2 separate regions of the Homo sapiens genome follow, and region 2 is linked to region 1. Evidence: promoter capture Hi-C in human tissues and cell types (Jung and others, 2019). All regions are on one chromosome and are shown on one strand. The core of a region is centred on a gene start or on the middle of the fragment in contact, and the rest is flanking DNA. Distances in the headings are between cores, read along the strand shown.

Evidence for each region. Contacts are between HindIII fragments. The study calls those that stand out against the background at their distance.
Region 2: a fragment that was not itself captured here is called in contact with the fragment with the promoter of SLC5A11 in region 1 in 2 of the 25 tissues and cell types used here (hippocampus and spleen).

Annotation. Positions count from the first base shown.
Region 1 is chr16:24,843,709-24,847,862 of GRCh38, forward strand. SLC5A11 (solute carrier family 5 member 11) reads left to right here and starts at 2,255. Exons shown (of 17, transcript NM_001352248.3): 1 at 2,255-2,304; 2 at 2,524-2,730. The HindIII fragment of the contact is 12,271 bases long and covers 1-3,579 here.
Region 2 is chr16:24,680,825-24,684,978 of GRCh38, forward strand. It overlaps a transcript of TNRC6A not described here. Among named protein-coding and RNA genes, the nearest start is that of LINC01567, 12 kb to the left of the region's middle. RefSeq lists an enhancer at 2,930-3,520. The HindIII fragment of the contact is 7,032 bases long and covers 1-4,154 here.

The sequences.
Region 1 (4,154 bases), core at 1,005-3,504:
TATAAGAAATGTCCAAATAGTTCTCTAAAGTGGTTATACAGTTCTTTTTTTTTTTTTTTTTTTTTTTGAATTGAGATCTCATTCTGTTGCCTCGAGTGTAGTGGCACTATCATGGCTCACTGCAGCCTTGAACTCCTGGGCTCAAACGATTCTCCCACCTCAGTCTCCTGAGTAGCTGGGACTACAGGTGCACACTGCTATGTCCATCTAATTCTTCCTATTTTGTGTAGAGATGAGGGTCTCACTGAGTTACCCAGACTGGCCTCTAACTCCTGGCCTCAAGAGATCCTCCTGCCTCAGCTTCCCAAAGCTCTGAGATGATAGCATGAGCCCCTGCACTCCACCTCTCCTATTCTTTATAGCACTGAGGGTAAAAATGAAAAACCTGACAGAGAAACAATCGGAGGTGACAAGCCAAGGGTCGAGCAGGCCACATCTGGCCCTCAAGGATGCGTAATCATGAAACTTTGCAGAACTTCTCTAGAACAATCAGAAGTTCTGACCCCATTGGGCCTGTCTTCCCCCACGTGGAGCTGGGTCGTGGCTGTCCTCTTCAGCTGGGACACATGCTCTCGGGTCAGCCTCAGCTCCACCTGCCCGGCTTCACTCACTACCACGCCTCTTCTGTAGACACCCTGCACATGGCTAAGGCTCCCCAGACATTCCCAAGAAGTCAGGACTGGACCCCAGGTTGGCGAAGCAGTGCACCCTCGGTGGCACCCCACTGCCTTTCCTGGTGCTGTGGCCTCTGCTGCAGATCACAGATTCATGGCCTTCTGTCTGTCCCTCTTCTCCAATCCCAGCTGTTCCTTCTGTAAATCTGTCCCCCAGGGCAGGTCCCTCCCCCAAAGGCCCCATTCATACTGGTGTTGGTCAGTCACCCAGTGTTTGCTCACCCAGGCCACCCTTTATCCAGTCAAGCCACCCTCCACTGCTCCTGCAGGACTCTAGAGCCAGGTGGCCTGGGCTGAAATCTTGCTGTGTCACTTACAACCCGGGTGATCCTGGGCCGATGACTCATCTCCTCTACCTCTGTTACCTCGTCAGTAAGATAGAGATAACAGGACCTAACTTCGAGGGTTGTTGGAAAGACCAAGTGAGTAAAGGCATGTTGTGCCCTTAGAGCCTGGCACGTGTTCATCACTGCTATTATTTCTGGCTACTCGGTGCCAGGACAGGGGCCTCAGCTGAGGGCCCCCCAGAGCCTGGCAGGCCCAGTGAAGGAGTGAGATGGGGAGGCCACGACTCCTCCCCAGTCAGCAGCTGTCCTGTGGCCATGGGGGCCTGGTGAGGCCAGATCTTCAGGTTGTTCTAGAAAAGTGAGTATTCTAGAATTATGTTTCAAGCCTCTTGGTTTGCAAATACTAGTAACTATTTTTAAAATGTTTTGGTATTTGGCCTGGCACAGTGTTTGACCCCTGTAATCCCAGCACTTTGGGAGGCCAAGGTGGGAGGATCACTTAAACCCAGGAGTTGGAGACCAGCCTGGGCAACATAGCAAGATTCTCTCTCTACCAAAAAAATGAAAAAATTAGCTGGGTGTGGTGGTGCACGCCTGTAGTCCCAGCTACTCGGGAGGCTGTGGTGGGAGGATCACTTGAGCCCAGGAGGATGAGCCTGCAGCAAGCTGTGATGCCACCACTGCACTCCAGCCTGGGTGACAGAGTGAGATCCTGTCTCAGAAATAAAAAGTAAATAAAGTTTTGGATGCTTTGAGCATCTGGCAGAAATCTTCGCTATGCCCCGCTGATGTCCTGGGCCCGATGTGGGCGCCTGGCCATGGCTCGGTCACTCCTGACGGTTTTTCAGGGCCTCAGACACCTCTTCTTCTTCTTCTTCTTCTTTTTTTGAGACTGATTTTCGCTCTTGTTGCCCAGGCTGGAGTGCAATGGTGTAATCTCGGCTCACCACAACCTCCGCCTCCCGGATTCAAGTGATTCTCCTGCCTCAGCCTCCCGAGTAGCTGGGACCACAGGCATGCACCACCATACCCGGCTAACTTTGTATTTTTAGTAGAGATGGGGTTTCTCCATGTTGGTCAGGCTGGTCTCGAACTCTCGACTTCAGGCAGACACCTGTTCTTTGCCATGCCTCTGTCTGAAGAGTATATGGAAAGGGGTTGCACAAGCAATGGTTGCTGTTCCTGTTGCTGCCACTGCGGTGAGGGCTGTGGCTGGACGTCCCTCCTGGCACTTTGCCTCTGTCCCCTCCATCCGCCGCCAGCATTTTTCCTCCCCTCCCCTTCCTCCAGCTCGTCCCAAGCCTGCCTGTCCCCAGCGTGGAGGCGGGACAGTGGAAGACTGGGTGAGTGAAGCAGGATGGTGCCTTGGGCTCCAGCGTCTCCCCAACCCCTCCATGCCATGGGTCCCCACGCAGGTGAGGACCCTGGTGGAGGACGGTGTGGGCAGAGCGTGGGACATGTCACCTTCCCCACCTGCTCAGAGTTCAAGGGTCCTGGGCTGGGCCCCGTTCTCTCTTCTGCCCTGGGGAGATCATTCACGCTTCCTTTAATCCCCGCTGCAGCTGAGGCTGGAGTTTGGAGTTTGACCCGCTTGGAGGCTCTCTCAGCAGCGGGCATATAGGAGGAAGGGTCACTGCTGTCTCCGGAAGCTCTTGGCTGCAAAGAGAGAGGATCCCGGGTATCTCCCTCCTTACAACCACCGCCACCTCCTAGTGCCTTAGAAGCCACTGACAGCCCCCAGGGCAGGTGAGCCCTGCATCTGGAATAAGGTAAGACACCCCCTGCCCCCAAACAGGTAGCCACTCTCCAAACTGGGAAGTTGGTCTGGGGACAGGTGCTGGCAGAAGGACTCCAGCTGTCACCTGTGGGGCAGGGGAAGCTCAGCCCTCTCTGCAGAGAAAGCTTGTCATACACCAGGACAATGGAGTGTGTTTGTGGGGTGGGCATGGTGGTATGAAGCCAGCAGCCGGCAGCCAGCAGCACCGTACGTGGGTCCCAGCTCTTCCACTTAACCAAGGTCAGGGACATTGAGCCAAACATTTTGCCTCACCGAGTCTCAGGTTCCTTATCTGTCAAATGGGAATATGAACCTCAGGCTGACCCACCCCACAGGTGTGTTACCCAGAGATAACGAAGGTAAATGTATCCACATAAGCATTAAAAAGCTATAGGAATGTATTTACTACAACTGCAGCTGCTGTTAACTACAAGGCAAATACAAGTCTTCACTGGTACGTGTCAGACACGTGCAGAGAACTTTACGCCTGGATCTCATCTAACTGACACAGAAACCCTGTAAGGTAGGTACAGCACCCCCTAATTCATGGACAGAGTCTAAGGGTCATTAAATAACTTGCTCAAGGTAATACAGATAGTGAGTGGCCAAGCCAAGACTCAATTCCTGTGGCCATGAGCTCAGCCACAATATCAGTGATTTTCTTTTTCTTTCCTTTCTTTCTTTTTCTCTTTCTTTCTTTTTCTTTCTTTTCCTTTCTTTTCTTTGTTCTTTCTTTCTTTCCTTCTTTCTTTTATTTCTTTCCTTATTCCTTTCTTTCCCTTTCTTTCTCCTTCCTTCTTTCCTTCCTTCCCTCCCTCCCACCTCTCTGTTTCTCTTTCTTTTCCCTTTTTTCTTTCTTTCTTTCTTTCTTCTCTCTCTTTTATTATTTATTTCTTCCTTTCTTTCCCTTTCTCCTTCCTTCTTTCCTTCTTTGCCTCCTCTCTCTCTCTGTGTGTGTTTTCTGTTCTCTCTCTCTCTCGTTTCTTTTCTGTCTTTTCTTTCACAGGGTCTCTCTGTGTTGCCCAGGCTGAAATGTAGTACTATCATAGCTCACCAGCATGCCCTGCTAACTTTTTTATTTTTATTTTTTGTACAAATGGGGTCTCCCTGTGTTGCCTTGGCTGGTCTCAATCTCCTGAACTCAAGCGATTCTCCCGCCTCAGCCTTGCAAAGTGCTGGGATTACAGGCATGAGCCACTGCACCCTACCAATCAGTGGTTTTCAAATGGTGTTCTGCTGAATTATTCTGGGCAATAGTTGACAGAAGTGTCCTAGCCCATTGGGCATCCTGCAGATAGGACTTGGAAAAATGCTGTCCCTTTTTTGGGCGGTCACAGCGTGCAAAGGATCTATAGCAAAGGCTCTAAAAATCCCACATTTATTTGTTGTACCAACATTTATTGCATGCCTGTTTTG
Region 2 (4,154 bases), core at 1,157-3,656, 160 kb before region 1:
TTTCAGCTCACTGCAACCAACCTCTGCCTTCCATGCTCAAGCAATCCTCCTCAGCCTCCCGAGTAGCTGAGACTACAGGCGTGCACAACCACACTCGGCTAATTAAAAAAAAAAAATTTTTTTTTTGAGAGACTAGGTCTCACTGTATTGCCCAGGCTGATCTCAAACTTCTGGGCTCAAACAATCTTCCTGCCTCAGCCTCCCAAAGTGCTTAGACAGTAAAGCTTTTTATAATAAAACCAAAATAACTCAGAACCATATCAAACAGAAAGTAAAAGTCCATGTTAGCCCCATCTCTCCAATTAATAATTATTAACAATTTGTTTTATATTCTTCCATACCTTTTTTCTAAATCTAATAGATAAAAAGGATCCTATTTTATTTACCATTTTTTAACTTGGTGTTTTTTGTTTGTTTGTTTGAGACCGAGTCTTGCTTTGTTGCCCAGGCTGGAGAGCAGTGGCGTGATCTCGGCTCACTGCAGCCTACACCTCCTGGATTCAAGTGATTCTCCTGCCTCAGCCTCCCGGGTAGCTGGGATTACAGGCATGCGCCACCATGCCCAGCTAATTTTTGTATTTTTAGTAGAGACAGGGTTTTCCCATGTTGGCCAGGCTAGTCTCAAACTCCTGACCTCAAGTGATCCGCCTGCCTCAGCCTCCCAGAATGCTAGGATTGCAGGCGTGAGCCATCGCACCTGACCTAACCTGTTTTTTTTCTATTAGTAATATATTGTGGACATATTTTCATAATCATTCATAGTGAGCTACTAATTTTTTCTGCCTAGTTGCATGTCATTCCATTGTATACATGTGTTGTAATTAGTCCAACTGTTAAAATATAAGCTCCATGAAAACAGGGCTTTTTCAGATTTATTTGCTGCTCTATCCTTAGGGGCTAGAACAGTGCTTGATGCTTAATAGGCACCCAACAAATGGGAATTAATTAATTAGTCAACTACTGATAGACAACTGGTTTGATTGTACCCCAGTACATTACTATTTTCACACTACCATAATTATTTCCTTGAGATAAATTCCTAAAGATGAAACTGCTGAGTCAAAAGGGATGCATATTTTAAAATGTTGCAACGTGTTGCCAAACTCCTCTGTATTTAGCTTGTACTATATTATATTCCCGCCCATCTGTCGATGAAAGCACCTCTGTTCCCCACGGCCTCGCCAGTATAAGTATCATTCATCTCTGATGTAAGTTGTGATAGGATAGTCAACTGTCTGTAAATGTTGTACGGGGGAATTGGAGAGTGGCTATTTTGTGAAACTGGGCAGAATGCACACAGTCTACCAGATCTACTTGAGTAATTAATGTAAACAAAGAATGCATCAGTCAAGGGAAGGAAAGAGAAGACATGTTCAAATTAGGTCATGAAAGGAGGACTTGTTTGATTTTTTTTTTTTTAAAGGCAGGGTCTTGCTCTGTTGCTCAGGCTGGAGTGCAGTGGTGTGATCTCAGCTCACCGCAGCCTCAACCTCTCAAGGTCAAGCGATACTCTCACCTCGCCTCCCAAGTAGCTGGGACTACAGGCGTGCACCACCACGCCCAGCTTTTTTTTTTTTTTTTTCAGTAGAGATGGGGTTTTGCCATATGGTCCAGGCTGGTCTCAAACTCCTGGACTCAAGCGGTCTGCCTGCCTCGGCCTCCCTAAGTGCTGGGATGACAGGCATGAGCTACCACACGCAGCTGAAGGAAGATTGAATAGAGGAACTCTACAAACGGAGGGCAGAAAACCGCAAGGATCCACAGGACTAATTAGGCTGGCTTCTGTTACCACCCCTATGCCTGAAAGGCCAAGGGGAAGAATGACCACTGTACCCTAGAGACTGAGAAGCCTATAGAGAGAGGGCCACCGAGGTGGGAAATGTGACTTTAAGGCAGCCAGCACGCAGAATGACCGCAGAGAAGCAGCCAGAGAATAAATGCCCCAAGCCCCGTCTCCTCCCTTCCTCAATCATCTTCTGGGGCTCCCTATTGGTCAAAACCAATGGGAAGCCAGAAGACAAGGGAGCCCATCGAACAGTGTATACACTTAGCCTCCCAAGACACAAGGCGTACACCAAGTGTTCGATAAATGCATCATTGAATTTAACCCTCACAATAATCCTTCAAGATAGTTGTTTACATTCTAATGGAAAACTGAGGCTCAGAGAGATTCATTAACTTGTCCAAGGTCACCAGCTAGTTTTGGAGGCTCCAATGCCCTGGGCTCATATGTGCTATGAAGCTTGGAACTGAGAGCAAGGAGACCCCATGACGAGCACAAACTCTTATCAGATACTGGAAGCCCCCAAAACAGCTCTAGTGGCAGGAAAAGGCTCTCCTGCAGTTTTTTGGGTTTTGGTGTTTTTTTGTTGTTGTTACTATTGTTGTTTTTGAGACAAGTTCTCACTCTATCACTCACTGGAGTGCAGTGGCACAATCATAGTTTACTTCAGCCTCAACCTCCTGGGCTCAAGCAATCCTCCCACCTCAGCCTCCCAAGTAGGTGGGACTACAGGCATACACCACCATGCCCAGCAATTTTTTAAATTATTTTGTAGAGACGGAGTCTTGCTATGTTGCCCAGGCTGGTTTTAAACACCTGTGCTCAAGCGATCCTCCCACTTGGCCTCCCAAAGTGCTTGGATTACAGGCATGAGCCACCGTGCCCAGCCCCTATCCTGCAGTTTTTATGACATGTGAGATGGTAGCTCAGGCAAGGCTCAGCAGACAAGCCACAGCTGTGTTCATCACCAACATCAGCCACCCTCTTCCCCATGGGAGGTGGTAGAGTGCCGTGCTAACAGCCCAGATTCTGGAGGTAAACTGCCCGAGTTCAAGTCCTGTTTCTGCCACCGACTAGCTGTGCAACCTTGGGCAATTTCCTTAGCTCTTCTCGCTGTCCTCAGTTTCCTCATCTGTAAAGTAAGGACAACCACAGGCCTCAGGACTTAATGAGGTAAAATAAGGAGAGTGCCCTGCACCTAGTGAGCCCTAGCAGGTATAAAGGTATTATAGGCATCGACACTAACTCACAGTGAACTGTTGCTTCCCAGTCTCTCTTCCCCTTCAAAGGTACTGATGTGTGAGCTCTCCCTAATTAGACTCTGCACCCTAAAGCCAGGAGTGTCTTGTCCAAGCCTCAGTGAGCTTCTTAACAGAGTAGTAGTAAATAGTTTAGTCTTTGTGAATCAAACATCTTTGTCACCACTATTCAACTCTGCCATTGTAGTGCAAAAGCACCCATGACAATCCTTAATGAATGGGTGTGACTGTATGTCAATAAAACTTTATTTATATGGCTGGGCACAATGGCTTATGCCTGTAATCCATTTGGGAGACTGAGGTGGGAGGATTGCTTGAGCCCAGGAGTTTGAGACCAGCCTGGGCAACACAATGAGACCTCAACTCTACAAAAAAATAAAATAAACAAGATTAGCTAGGTGTGGTGGTGGCACGTGGGGTCCCAGCTACTTGGGGGGCTGAGGTGGGAGGATCACTTGGCCCCCAGGAGGTAGACGCTGCAGTGAGCTGAGATCGAGCCACCGCATTCCAGCCTGGGCAACAGAGCGAGGCCCTGTCTTAAAACAAAAACATAACACAATTTTATTTATAGATGCTGAAATTTGAATTTTACCTAATTTTTACATGTCACAAAATAGTATTCTTCTTTGGATTCTTTTTCAGTGTTTTAAAATGTAGGGCTGGGCACAGCAGCTCACACCTGTAATCCCAGTGCTTTGGGAAACCAAGATGGGAGGATCACTTGAGGCCAGGAGTGCAAGACCAACCTGGGCAATAGAGTGAGACCCCATCTCTACAAAAAATTTAAAAATCGGCTGAGTGAAGTGACAGTTGTCTTTAGTCCCACTTACTCAGGAGGCTGAGGTGGGAGGATAACCAGAGCCCAAGAGTTCGAGGTTACCGTGAGCTGTGATCACATTACTGCACTCCAGCCTGGGCAACAGAGCGAGACTGTGTCTCTAATAAAAATAAAAACTAAAACCATTTTTAGTTCAAGGCCCACACAAAAGCAGCCGGTGTCAGGCAGGACAGACCCTCTAACAATGCACATGAAACTTCACTTTCTTCTAAACTCACTCTGAGTCAGGCCTGGGAAGCCCTTTTAGAGATAAAAGCTACCCTGGTCCCTACGG